Linked DNA regions of Homo sapiens: regions 1, 3, 4 and 5 are each linked to region 2. The links are contacts of gene promoters, found by promoter capture Hi-C in blood cells and fetal thymus (Javierre and others, 2016). All regions are on one chromosome and are shown on one strand. The core of a region is centred on a gene start or on the middle of the fragment in contact, and the rest is flanking DNA. Distances in the headings are between cores, read along the strand shown.

Evidence for each region. The method cuts DNA at HindIII sites, captures the fragments that hold promoters and counts their contacts. A CHiCAGO score of 5 or more calls a contact.
Region 1: a contact is called between a fragment that was not itself captured here and the fragment with the promoter of CLCA2 in region 2, in 1 of 17 cell types (neutrophils). The highest score is 10.9, in neutrophils.
Region 3: a contact is called between a fragment that was not itself captured here and the fragment with the promoter of CLCA2 in region 2, in 4 of 17 cell types (erythroblasts, fetal thymus, total CD8 T cells and 1 more). The highest score is 6.1, in erythroblasts.
Region 4: a fragment that was not itself captured here is called in contact with the fragment with the promoter of CLCA2 in region 2 in 1 of 17 cell types (non-activated CD4 T cells); the score reaches 5.4 in non-activated CD4 T cells.
Region 5: a fragment that was not itself captured here is called in contact with the fragment with the promoter of CLCA2 in region 2 in 1 of 17 cell types (neutrophils); the score reaches 5.2 in neutrophils.

Annotation. Positions count from the first base shown.
Region 1 is chr1:87,103,465-87,106,164 of GRCh38, forward strand. HS2ST1 (heparan sulfate 2-O-sulfotransferase 1) reads left to right here. Exons shown (of 7, transcript NM_012262.4): 6 at 1-125; 7 at 1,006-2,700. The coding sequence ends at 1,232. Among named protein-coding and RNA genes, the nearest start is that of LINC01140, 25 kb to the right of the region's middle. The HindIII fragment of the contact is 2,197 bases long and covers 153-2,349 here.
Region 2 is chr1:86,422,736-86,425,435 of GRCh38, forward strand. It overlaps CLCA2 (chloride channel accessory 2), which reads left to right and starts at 1,436. Exons shown (of 14, transcript NM_006536.7): 1 at 1,436-1,698; 2 at 2,604-2,700. The coding sequence starts at 1,513. The HindIII fragment of the contact is 7,161 bases long and covers 1-2,339 here.
Region 3 is chr1:87,084,753-87,087,452 of GRCh38, forward strand. All of the region lies in intron 3 of HS2ST1 (heparan sulfate 2-O-sulfotransferase 1), which reads left to right. Among named protein-coding and RNA genes, the nearest start is that of LINC01140, 44 kb to the right of the region's middle. The HindIII fragment of the contact is 1,014 bases long and covers 899-1,912 here.
Region 4 is chr1:87,119,484-87,122,183 of GRCh38, forward strand. No RefSeq gene overlaps it. Among named protein-coding and RNA genes, the nearest start is that of LINC01140, 8.9 kb to the right of the region's middle. The HindIII fragment of the contact is 1,093 bases long and covers 790-1,882 here.
Region 5 is chr1:87,066,972-87,069,671 of GRCh38, forward strand. All of the region lies in intron 1 of HS2ST1 (heparan sulfate 2-O-sulfotransferase 1), which reads left to right. Among named protein-coding and RNA genes, the nearest start is that of LINC01140, 61 kb to the right of the region's middle. The HindIII fragment of the contact is 8,519 bases long and covers 1-2,700 here.

The DNA of each region.
Region 1 (2,700 bases), core at 1-2,500, 680 kb after region 2:
CAAGTATAACCTAATTAATGAATATTTTCTGGTGGGAGTTACTGAAGAACTTGAAGATTTTATCATGTTATTGGAGGCAGCATTGCCCCGGTTTTTCAGGGGTGCTACTGAACTCTATCGCACAGGTATATAAAGGAAGGGTTTCTTTTTAAAGCTTTCTTTGGTTTGGTTTTTTGGTTTGCAACTTGTAAATATGTGATTTGAAGTTTCTTCAGTGAAACACAACAGATAGCTCCAGAAAGGCAGGTATCTTGTCGGTTTCTGCTCACTATTTTCAATTGAGTAACTGTGAATTAGGTGAAAATTAGAAGGCACTGTAGAAATAGTGGAATGATACAAAGTACAGAACCAGCCATAGAAATGTATGGTATTCAATAATGCCAGATATCAAACATTAGGCCTGTGTATAAGTCCTGCCTACTACCATTTTGAAGTAGAGGTGTGATAGGGGAACTGAAGTATGCCTAAGCCATGTTTTAGCAGCCTCAGCCGTATTATCATGTGTCTGAAAGTGATAAGCTAATTGTGTTTTTGTTTTGTTTCGTTTTTTGCTATTGCTTGATAAGATGCAGTCATAGGAACTCTTCTCCTTGAGGATGCATATGCCCTAGCTTCTAACACATAATTTTAGAGAATACAGATTATGAGAAAATAGAATACAGTTTGACAATAGGTATTTTATCAAAAATAAACTAGTCTCAGAGCACCAAGCACTTGAGAATATAGTGTGTGAGGTGACAGCCTACACTTTACTGTGTGCCAATCCTTACATTGACTATTTGACATTTCATTAAGTCTTTACTAGGTTAAGGATTAACATTCTAAAGGACTGAATCATGGCTCTAGTTTGATCAAGGCTCCGTTTTTACCTGAATTATATAAGACAATTATGTTACCTGTTCTTAATGTGTCATATTAACCACCTCTTCAAATAAAGAGGCATTGATCTTTTGTGTGTTCTCCAAGAATTATTTACCTTTCCTTTTTTTCCCCCTTTGTAAGTAGGAAAGAAATCTCATCTTAGGAAAACCACAGAGAAGAAACTCCCCACTAAACAAACCATTGCAAAACTACAGCAATCTGATATTTGGAAAATGGAGAATGAGTTCTATGAATTTGCACTAGAGCAGTTCCAATTCATCAGAGCCCATGCCGTTCGAGAAAAAGATGGAGACCTCTACATCCTCGCACAAAACTTTTTCTATGAAAAGATTTACCCTAAGTCGAACTGAGTATAAGGTGTGACTATTGGATTCTTGAACTAAAATTTGACCCTGTCTTCACCTTTGTTCTCAGCTCCACAGTCTGGATTGCTGACAGTAGGTGTATATGACAATTTGTATTGAGCCAAATTAGGAAACAGACAGTAACGTCAAGGAAGTAGATACTGGCTGGCATTGTCAGTGTTCTAAGTTTCAGGCATTTTTATTTTTCCTGGCTAAACGTTGGTGAAAGTTATAACCTCCTGCCTGGGAGAAAATATACATCACCTAAAATGAACTTATGGCAGGTCTAATCAAAAGGCTAAATACAATTTCAGAAAAGGTTCTGATACTCTTGTTTTTGATAAAGCATTTTTTCAACTAACCATGAATTAAGATGAGTCCATTTGCCTCTTCTGCCTTCACTGAGGGTTTGGGTTATACACCTCTACTGAATTGTGTTAATAACTGTTTGGCAGTGTGTACTTTGTTTTTGTGAGTCATGTCTCATGAAATTTATTGGAATGTTTAATCATATTTGCTAAGAAATGTTTCTGCTGTAGTTGGATTTGCCCATATTTATGTAGGTGGTTTTAATTTTTTAAATGGTGATTAGTGTTAAAAATCAATTTAAATCATGACTAATATGGTAAAAAGATAAAGCATCAAAGCAGTATTTCTCATTCCTGCCTCCTCAATATCTAATACTGGGAAGATACTTCAAAGAATATTGAGATTGTCTGAAGTTTTAGTTAAGATTTTCACACATTAATATCAAAAAAGTAAGTTTAGTATTTGTTTCTCCATGGGTTATTTGTAAAGCTGTAAACTGAGATATCGGTGACTCCGTATTATGACTCCATTAGTGAGCTGTGGTATGGGTAGGATTTTCCTACTTCTTCTGTACTTTTACCTGTAGACTATTTTTACTAAGGTGCTTTATAATGTGTTTTAAAGCATTGCATTTACAAAACAAGGAAAATGCTGTAAATATTGCATATTTTATGTATTTGGACCAAAAGGTTACAAGTAATTAGACAAAAGTGGTTTTGCACCAATTTTATGTCAAGTAAAACCATCAGACCTACTGTTCTTGTATTTCTCATTTAACTTTACTGTTAAGACATCACTGAAATGAACTTCAGTAAGCTTTCAATTTTGATACACAGTTCATTATTCATAACTTGAGGCAGTAATTACAGTGGAATGAGTACTGGACAAGGAGTCAAAAAACTTGATTTCAGGTCCTAGCTCTAGCACTTACAGCTGTGTGATCTTGGGCAAGTCACTTAACCTCTCTTTGCCTCAATTTCCTCATCTTGAAATGAGGATAATAATACCTGCTGTACCTACCTCACAGGGCTGTTGTGAGGATTAAATGAGATGGCATGTGAAAGCACTTTGAAAATTGTAAAGCGCTATGTAAATGTAAGGTATTATAGAAACATCTTTAACATATAGTTTCATACCATTCATTTTTTAACAAAGAAAGGGAAAA
Region 2 (2,700 bases), core at 186-2,685:
AAGGGGAAAAAAATTCCCTCAACATCTGTCAACATTGCAGTGCAATATCAAAGCCCAAGTTCAGAAGACTCCAACCTTGCTGGGAAGAAGAGTGACATCACACTGCCCATGAAGATGTTGAAAACAGACAATGTTGGTGAAATCCCTGTTGAGAGCAGGGACAGACCGTTTCCTAAATGCTACACTCCCCTCCCCAGAAATGTTCCGAGACGGGGCCACAGCAGGGAAGAGTCACAGGTTTTGCTTGCTGTGGACCTCTGACGCTGTGAATAAAACTTTTTCTTTAGTTTTACAATAGATGTCACTGTGCGGCATTCTTAAACACAAAGAAGAGGGAGAAACGAGGTTACTAAGATAATTTAGTAACTAAGAGAGAACATGATATATTGAAAAACAGTGGAATTTGGAGTCAGTTGGTTCATTCTAGTACGATGATAATACTCCCAACCTTGAACAAGTTACTTAGATTTTTTTGAACATTAGTTCTGTCACCCATAAAATAGGCATAATAAAATCCATCACTCAAAAAATGTTAGTTTCTTCTCTCATTGGCTAATTTTCATAATCAGAATTTCCAAGACTCATTATTTTCATTTGAAAAGTACAAATTATACCTGCATCAGAGTATTGATATTTAAATGAGTTCATTTGTAAACTTTAAAGCATGAGGTAAATATCAGGTATTATGAATCAGTCATAAAATATTTGCGATGGTTACTATATATTAGATCCTGTTTTTGGTCCTGGAGAAATGGAGGGTTGACTGAAGCAGGGCCTTGCCCTTAGGAGAGAGCTGAAGGAGAAATCTATTCTTCTTCCTGAGGCAGAGAGAAAAGGTAGCAAGGCCAGAGGGAAAGGGCTGCACAGGCACCCAAGTTCCTGGCAGTTGGCCCTCTCTGGGGGATATCTGATATCTGACCTCCAGCCATCAGCTGAGAGCTTGCCCAGACTATCTGACCCAAGGGCTGTAGGGACTGGGCTGCAGAATGGATTTCTAAATCTTCAAAATAAACAGGCAAGGAAATCTTGCAACAAATGAAAAATGACTTGAGGGCAGTAGAAAGTACTTGTGCCAACTGATGGAGGAGGTTATGAAAAATGAGGAGAGGAAAATCACTATAGACTTCTGTGTTTCTACTGCAAGTGGATTGAACAGTCCAGATATACTGATTTCCAGCCCATATTTCCTGCTTTTAAGCTCCTTTGGTCTTATTTCCCTCTTCTTTCTGAAAAGTTATAAAATGAATGAAGGGCAGAATGTTTCTTGCCCAACCATGATTCAGGAGGCAGCTCAGCCACAGAACAGGCAAGTGTAGCATTGCCTGGAGGAAAAGGACTTGTAGAGGCAGGTCCCAGATGGATCCACCCCAGACTTTTCAAAGAAGACACCTCCTTCATCTTGTGTTCTAAAACCTTGCAAGTTCAGGAAGAAACCATCTGCATCCATATTGAAAACCTGACACAATGTATGCAGCAGGCTCAGTGTGAGTGAACTGGAGGCTTCTCTACAACATGACCCAAAGGAGCATTGCAGGTCCTATTTGCAACCTGAAGTTTGTGACTCTCCTGGTTGCCTTAAGTTCAGAACTCCCATTCCTGGGAGCTGGAGTACAGCTTCAAGACAATGGGTATAATGGATTGCTCATTGCAATTAATCCTCAGGTACCTGAGAATCAGAACCTCATCTCAAACATTAAGGTGAGTGGAAATTATGAAATTGATACTAGCATCCCATTTGATCAGACCTGTAGCCTTATTTAGAAGCTAACTACCCTGCCTGGTTTGTATTTGAGTAATACAGAGAACAGCATTTTTAAAAGATAGCGCCACAACGTTATGATTATGGCTAACTAAGCCAGTTTGTTCATCTAATTCTGTGTAGTCTCAGCTCACAGAGTGTTGATCTAGCCCTCTATTTTGTTATTGTTGGTTGCTACTAATTTCAGCTCTTTTGTTTTCCTACATGACTGTTTTTGGGGTAGCAACTTAGAAAAATAACAACCCATTGTGGCAACAAAGATTGAATATTTAACTGATGAATAAGCATGATAATGAGCATGCTTGTTAAAATCATATTGCTAGATTCCATCCTGAGGGTGAGAATTCTCAGGCAGAAAGGGTGAGAGTCTGCACGGTGGGCCAAAAAGCAAAATTATTTCTTTTCACTTGAATGTGCTGTAACATAATTGACTATTTTTACTTTAATATGGCAAGGGAGGATCATAGCTCTATGATGTAAGAGCCTCCATTTAGTATTGCTTTAGTGAAATCAGTAGCATCATAAGGTGTGGTCTTGAATGTGCCCACAGGTGTGACATGAAAAGGATTTGTTCCACAAAAGCTTAAAAGCCTTTCTCAAAATTGGGAAAACTATGAAGGCAAGCACAGACATATAATTAGTGTCCTAAAATCTTCCATATAATCATTTAAAGTTTTTTTAAAAATTTGCTCCTATGTTTTCCCAAAGTCTAGGGCTTTCTCTAAAAGAAATGGGTCTCTTCAAAATATTTCATTGTCTTTTATTACTGTTTAAGCATACCAGAAAACCAAAACATACAGGATTTACAAGTGGTAAAGTAAGTTTTTCTTTTGTCTGGCTGTAGGAAATGATAACTGAAGCTTCATTTTACCTATTTAATGCTACCAAGAGAAGAGTATTTTTCAGAAATATAAAGATTTTAATACCTGCCACATGGAAAG
Region 3 (2,700 bases), core at 156-2,655, 660 kb after region 2:
AAAATTCATGATTTCCTCTCTCACCCCCCCTCTCCTTCTCCCTCTCTCCCTCTCTCCTTCTCTCTTGCTCTCTCTCCCTCCCTGTCACTCACTCACTCACTCACTCACTCACTCACTCCTGGACTCAGGTGATCCTCCTGCCTCAGCCTCCCAAAGTGCTGGGATTATAGGCATGAGCCACTGTGCCCGGCCTCTGTCATATTAATAGTTCTCTCAAGAAGGGTTCAGAAAACTATATGCCTACTCACAGTATTCAAGTACTATGTGGCTTTCTGTACAGTCTGTGCCACATTATTAATCAGAAAATTAATTAAACTTAATATTCCAAACATAACAGTCTTATGGATACATTTGAACTTTTTTGGTAGTACACATAGTACCATTGTAGTAAACCTCAAATCCAAATGTTTTCCCTAAGATTCTGCATTAACTTCAAAAACACTAAAAAAATTTTTTTTATTATTTAGCTTAGACATGTTTATTCAGTTTTTAAATTAGCTATTATGATTTCAGAGTAACACACCTTGATATATTGGTCAACTTTAAAAGGCATTTTTTATAAAATTTAAAATAAAAGTGATATCCCACTCTCAGTTTTACTTAATTTTGAAAAGAAAAAGTAGAATGAAGTATTACTGATTCAAACTGATAATCTTAACTTTTTGGGAAATCATGTAATTAAAAAAGAATCACCCAAATATTACATACATAAAGTGATATGTTCCTATTTCTAGTTCCTCTCATAGTACTCAAGATCTTTCAATCAAATTGTAGCTCTAAAGTTAGATGTATGTTTTTCTATAAATAATTCATACTGCAATATTGAAAATATTTTATAGGCAGCTTTAAAATAAACTAATTATTTTTTTCTTTGCATAGGCATTGAACCAATTTCATAAGCTTCGTTCATGTGCATATTTTCCCTCAGGGCTGCATTATCCTTGAATTGAATGTTTGTTACCCTTTCACCTAAATGATTTATTCTTTCCACACACAGCTTGGTTTCTAATAGTCTAGGTTTTCATTATTAAAATTATAAATTGAGTGCTTTTGCTTTTGGCAAAGTCTTATACTTAGAACAAAGCTCTGATATATGCTGAGGTTCTTGTAGTTGAAAAAATAAGGCTTTTTGAAGAGATTAATCTCATTTATTAAATGCTGACATGAATTTTTAAGCGTTTGAATATTTTCATAGTGAGTCTTATGTTATTTGAAGGGAAAAGTATTGTGAAAATTTTTCATAGATTTTTCCAAGATTTTAAATACCTAAACAAAATCAGCCTAGGTGAAATGTATTTTGATGTATCTATGTAATCAAGAACTGTTGTAGATGTAACTAGTATCCTCAAATATCTTTTAGCTTAATAGCCATATGCTCCATAAATGGGGAAGGAAAAGGAAAGAAACATCGCCTTACCAATTTTTTAGATTACAGTCGTTCCTGGGGTATGTCCAGGGTATTGGTTCTCGGACTGCCTGAGTATATAAAAATCGCATACTCAAGTCCCTCCGTTGGCCCTGTGAAACCCACGAATTTGAAAGTCACCCCTTGTACACGGGTTTCACATCTCTCAAGTACTGTATCTGTGTGTGGTTGAAAAAAATCTATGTATGCATGGGCCTGCACAGTTCAGACTCGTGTTGTTCAAGGGTCAATTGTGCTTTACTCTTCAAAACAATATTCTTGACTGGCATAGTACTTTGTGGAGTCCAGTAAAATACTTGCTTTCAGGAGAAAGTGGTGAATTTGGCAAAATACTTATTTAACACATAGTTTTTTTAAACTTACCTTATCAGAGACATTAAAACGAATGTAAGCCCCAAGAAACCTAGGAAATAAGATAGAGAAATAAAAAATGAACGCTCCTTTCTAGTTTAGCCCGACCACGAAGAAATACACATTATATTTGCAAGCTTGTCTACTCAAGCCATGTTTTGATTACATACATTTGTTTTTTACTGAACTTTAGAATAATAACAAAAATATCTTTTTTACATTTTTGCATTCCTATCCCATCTTGCTCCTTTTTGTCTGAATCTTATTCTTTGATTTTTTTAAAGTATATTTCCTAGTTCTTCTTCCTTTCCATTTTTCCCTTTAATGTTAGGTTATGTTTTGTTTTCTTTTTAATTGGTGAATGATACAATTTTAAGATAATGTAGATATAAATTATTATAAATTTGAAAATTTTCCAGTTTAAAATTGTATATAGGTTGGACATTTTCAAAATGTCATAGTATGCAGGAAATATAAAGTTGAGTAAGTTGCAGTTCTTGACCTTAATGAGTTCACTGAAATCTTTTTTTCTGTAATTACCAGTTCATGAAGTTTTATTATAAACAGTAAAAATATTAAATATTCCTCCCCTTTTAAATGTGCACTATTTATTTTTTAATAGCATCTATTAGCCCATTTTGATTTTCTTCAAACTTTAGAAAATTAAAATGTTAGAAGTCTCTTTCAAAAACACTTCTTCAGCAATAAACATTTTCATTTATAATGAATAATAGCTAAAAGAACACTTTTAATGCTGTACTTTCTGTCAGACTCTGCTAAGTTTTTTATGATCTAGCTACCTCAGTGTCACATGTCAGCATCTGTCTTGAGAGGTATTTGAAAATTATTTTTGATATAACAGTTTTATTCAGGCACGTATCAGGTATGTACCTTTGTAGTTGTCCCTAGAAATGAGAATGAGT
Region 4 (2,700 bases), core at 86-2,585, 700 kb after region 2:
GCCATAGAAAACAAATCTGGTAGTAGGGAGGTGGGTGGTAGCAGGGGTTATTGCAGCTTCACTGCATATTTCATGCTGAGGAGGCCCGTGTAAAATCTCTGATTGTTTTTGTAAACATGGATGCAAATTCATATTCAATTGCTACAGGCCCCATGTGTCTAGAACCACATTCTAACCAACAGGCGAGATGCAGGGGAAAACAGAAATATTGTGGGCTGGCCCTTGAATCATCCTGTGTGCCACACAGGAGAAGACGTAGAATTTCCTCTAATGACAATGACTGCTTTCTTCTGGTTAACTTCCCACTTGTAGGTTACCCCACAAAGCCAATGGCACAAGTATGAACAATTCCAAGTTCCTCCCTTCCTCAAAATTACTGTGTCTCTAGGCCCCTCCTCTGGCTTCAGCAGCTCCCTCTCCATGCAGAGCCCTGGTTCTAGCCGACCAACCATCTTGGAGCTCCTCTATGCCTCCCAGCCCTTCCCTTAGTCCCTCCAGAGCAAGAGGATGTGGTAAGCTGGCTGGCCTGCCTGAGCATATCCTAGAAAACGGTTTGTGTTGGAGGAGCAATGGAACACTGCTCTGCCTTTGACAGCCTCCTGACCCCTGAGGGTTCAACACACTTGTCTCCCTCACCTGCCCCTGGTGGGTTGCCCTCTTGCCACTTCCATTGATGACCCCTTTGCACCTTCAACTGAAGTCTGCACCCACTCCCACCTCCTCTCACAGCCTCAGCTCATCCCTGATGACTCAGATCAAGTTTCCTTAGGGTGAAATGAAGTGGGGTGAAGCTTTGTCTGCTTCTTAGAGTTCAGGGAATACCCAAAACAATCTAACAGTCACACCACCTGACCAACTTTGTGACCTTATCCACATGAGGAGAAGGCAAGAATCTCAACAGCTGAAGTGTGCCAGAAACATTATGTTTTGTTTTAGTGAATCCGTTACAAGTCCCCATTTGGCTTGCTGATTGGCAATTTCAGTTACTGCTGGATAGTCTTTCTCTCGCTGGGGGTTGTGTCTCCATTGTAGGTGGCTTATTACTATCACAACAGCCTGTGTGTGTGTGTGTCCATGCATGCACAGAGGGGCCCTCTGACCCAGGTTGTCCATCCACACCAGCCTCCCAGGTCTGTATCACCCCATCCCACCCTTGATCACTGATACCCACAGGTTTGTGGCTGCCCTCTCTCACCCCCCACTGCAAGGTCTGTGCAGATTTGACTCTTTCTTAACTACTCCTGTGCCCCCTTTTGAGGGCCTGTAGGGAATTCTGCTATGCCTCTGCCCCATACCCCACACAACTACTCTAGGGCTGTGGGAATTCTATGGGGCTGTCACAGGCCTCTCGATCTGGGCACACCCGGAATCACTTTCTACTCTGCTGCTCCTGTCCATGCTGGGCACCCAGGAAACAGACAGTGGTGTCTTTGCTCTTCCATCCCACAACCTCTTTTGTTGTTCTCTTATTCCCCTCCATCCTCCAGGGGGCAGCAGTAATGCAGCTCTTTCTCAGGGACCCCACTGAGGAGTCCTCTCTTTCCTTCTGCTCTCCTTTGGAGACTCCATCTCATCTTGGGTGGCAAGTGGGGTGGATACACCAAATCTTTTATATCTTAGTCAGACTTCACTTTTGAATCTCAAAACTCAAACAGTTGGATCTTGGGTGCTTTAGTTCCACTGGGACAACTTTTCTTTGACCTAGAAATGCCACATGTGGGAGGGTCACAACACAACAGTGACACTAGTGAATATATCTCTGCGTTGTCCCCATATGCGGCAAATGGGTGCAAGATGCTGCCTGCCACTCACTGTGCAAAGACTACCCACACCAGGAAAAAGCAGAGCCTGTGCTCCATGAATCTGCAATCACGGGCATCTAAGCTTAGAATATCCCACTCTGTTGCAAGTGAAAACATGTAGGTGTATCTCTTTGGCCCAACTCAAAAGGTAGATGTTTTCTCCCTTTTAATACAGTCACTTGGCAGTTTCAGCTTTCTATGAACATTCTTCTGGAAAAGAACCTCAGCTCGTTGTGTAGTTAAATTTATTCAGCATATAAATCTCTTAAAATCCATGCCCTTAAATGTTTATGGTCATGTGGGATATTATCAGTGTCAGAGATGGGCAGGGTTGAAGGAATTTGGGGTCAGACTACTTTCTTTTAATCTTCTCCAAACATTTTAGGTTTGGCAAAACTTGAATTGCATTTTGCCAAGCCCCTGTGCCTGTAATTTGTAAACCCCTGTGTATTTTCAGTTAAATGTAGTCCATATGTTTCTGATTGATTTACACTTAACTCATCTAAACGTTGTTTTGTTAGTGTTATTTGATGTCCAAAGGGCCTCAGAGCCTGTTTACATCTGTCTAAGCTGCTCGTTTTCCTCCCTGAGACTCAGGAAGATCTGTTTTGCCAAGAGTAAACTAAGTCGAATACTGCACCGCCCCTCCCCGCCTCCACCCCCTAGGATTGGATCAGACTTGGGTAGAATCTGACAAAGAGCTGAGGAAGTTGCACTGGGCTTTGAAGTTGACCAAACACTCTACCCTACATTTCACCAAGAGGAATCAGAGCGCAAAGCCTCCCCCTTGGGGACTGTGACCAATAACACGAATACAGAGACCAGATCCTAGGCCAGGCCAACTTCCCAGCCTGGCCCTTTTCCTTATGGCACTGACATTTGGCTGCAACTAGCCACC
Region 5 (2,700 bases), core at 185-2,684, 640 kb after region 2:
GATGGGGATTTGGGTTGGTTCCACATCTTTACTATTGTAAACAGTGCCACAGTAAAACATACGTGTGCATGTGTCTTTATAGTAGAATAATTTATAATCCTTTGGGTATATACCCAGTAATGGGATTGCTGGGTCAAATGGTATTTCTGGTTCTAGATCCTTGAGGAATCGCCACATTGTTTTCCACAATGGTTGAACTAATTTACACTCCCATCAACAGTGTAAAAGTGTTCCTATTTCTCCACGTCCTCTCCAGCATCTCTTGTTTCCTGACTTTTTAATGATTGCCATTCTAACTGGCGTAAGATGGTATCTTGTTGTGGTTTTGATTTGCATTTCTCTAATTACCAGTGATGATGAGCTTTTTTTCATATATTTGTTGGCTGCATAAATGTCTTCTTTTGAGAAGTGTCTGTTCATGTCCTTCACCCACTTTTTGATGGGGTTGTTTTTTTCTTGTAAATTTGTTTAAGTTCTTTGTAGATTCTGGGTATTAGCCCTTTGTCAGATGGGTAGATTGCAAAAATTTTCTCCCATTCTGTAGGTTGCCTGTTCACTCTGATGATAGTTTCTTTGGCTGTGCAGAAGCTCTTTAGTTTAATTAGATCCCATTTGTCAATTTTGGCTTTTGTTGCCATTGCTTTTGGTGTTTTAGTCATGAAGTCTTTGCCCATGCCTATGTCCTGAATGGTGTTGCCTAGGTTTTCTTGTAGGGTTTTTATGGTTTTAAGTCTTAGTTTAAGTCTCTAATCCATCTTGAGTTAATTTTTGTGTAAGGTGTAAGGAAGGGGTCCAGTTTCAGTTCTCTGTATATGGCTAGCCAGTTTTCCCAACACCGCTTATTAAATAGGGAATCCTTTCCCCATTGCTTGTTTTTGTCAGGTTTGTCAAAGATCAGATGGTTCTAGATGTGTGGTGTTATTTCTGAGGCCTCTGTTCTGCTCCATTGGTCTGTATTTATGTTTTGATACCAGTACCATGCTGTTTTGGTAGTGTAGCCTTGTAATATAGTTTGAAGTCGGTAGCGTGATGCCTCCAGCTTTGTTCTTTTTGTTTAGGATTGTCTTGGCTATGCGGGGTCTTTTTTGGTTCCATATGAAATTTAAGGTAGTTTTTTCCAATTCTGTGAAGAAAGTCAGTGGTAGCTTGATGGGGATAGCATTGAATCTATAAATTACCTTGGGCAGTATGGCCATTTTCATGATACTGATTCTTCCTATCCATGAGCATGGAGTGTTTTTCCATTTATTTGTGTCCTCTCTTATTACCTTGAGCAAAGTTTATAGTTCTCCTTGACGAGGTCCTTCACATCCCTTGTAAGCTGGATTCCTAGGTATTTTATTCTCTTTGTAGCAATTGTGAATGGGAGTTCACTCATGATTTGGCTCTCTATTATTGGTGTATAGGAATGCTTGTGATTTTTGCACATTGATTTTGTATCCTGAGACTTTGCTGAAGTTGCTTATCAGCTTAAGGAGATTTTGGGCTGAGACGATGGGGTTTTCTAAATATACAATCATGTCATCTGCAAACAGAGACAATATGACTTCCTCTTTTCCTAATTGAATACCCTTTATTTCTTTCTCCTGCCTGATTGCCCTGGCCAGAACTTCCAATACTATGTTGAATAGGAGTGGTGAGAGAGGGCATCTTTGTCTTGCACCGGTTGTCAAAGGACTTCCCAACACCTTTAAACTTAACTATTAATAGCTTACTGTTGGCCAGAAGCCTGGCCAATCAATAAACAGTTGATTAACACATATTGTATATTGCATGCTGTATTCTTGTAACGCTATATACTATATTCTTACAATAAAGTAAACTAGAGAAAAGAAAATGTTATTTAACATACAAGAAATAGAAAATATGTATTTTTTATTTTTTTATTTAAAATTTTTTTTTAAGAGATGGGGGTCTAGCTGGGTTGCCCAGGCTTGTCTCAAACTCCTCGGCTTAAGCAATCCTCCTCCCTCAACTCCTGAGTAGCAGTAGCTGGGACTACAGGTGCACGCCACCAGGCCAGGCTCTGAGAAAATATGTTAAGTTTTCTATTTGTTAAGGGGAAATAGATTATCACAAACATCTTCATCCTCATCATCTTCACACTGAGCAGGCTGAGGAGGAAGAGGTGGGCCTAGTCTTGCTGTCTCATGGATGCCAGAGGCAGAAGAGATAAAGGAGGTAGGAGGCAGGAGAAGCAGGCACACTCAGTGTAAATTTTATTGAAAAAGAATCCACGTATTGGACTCATGCAGTTCAAATCCATGTTGTTCAAGGGTGAACTGCAATTTATTACTCAAAGATGAAGAAAACATTACGACAAAATGTATCCTAAGTATTTTGAATATACTGCCTACATTCTAAGTGCACTGCAAATGTGGCATAACTAGTTAACTTTCTTCAGTGATTTAAGAAAGCCTCACAAGAGGCTGCACTAACTAGATGTAGAGCATCTTTGCTAAAAAAAAGAATTATAACTATCTAATACTTACTTAGTAAATAAAGAAAATGACCATATTGAAAACACTGATTGATTTTAAGTATTGCCACAGAAGAAAGATAGTAATTTATCATCAATAATAGTTACTGCTGTTCAACTGAGATGTGATTTAATATTACTAACAAAATTGTTCTTAATTTTCCATACATTTTTTATCTTTTTATGTAGTTTTAGGCCTAACATTATATTAATAATTGTCC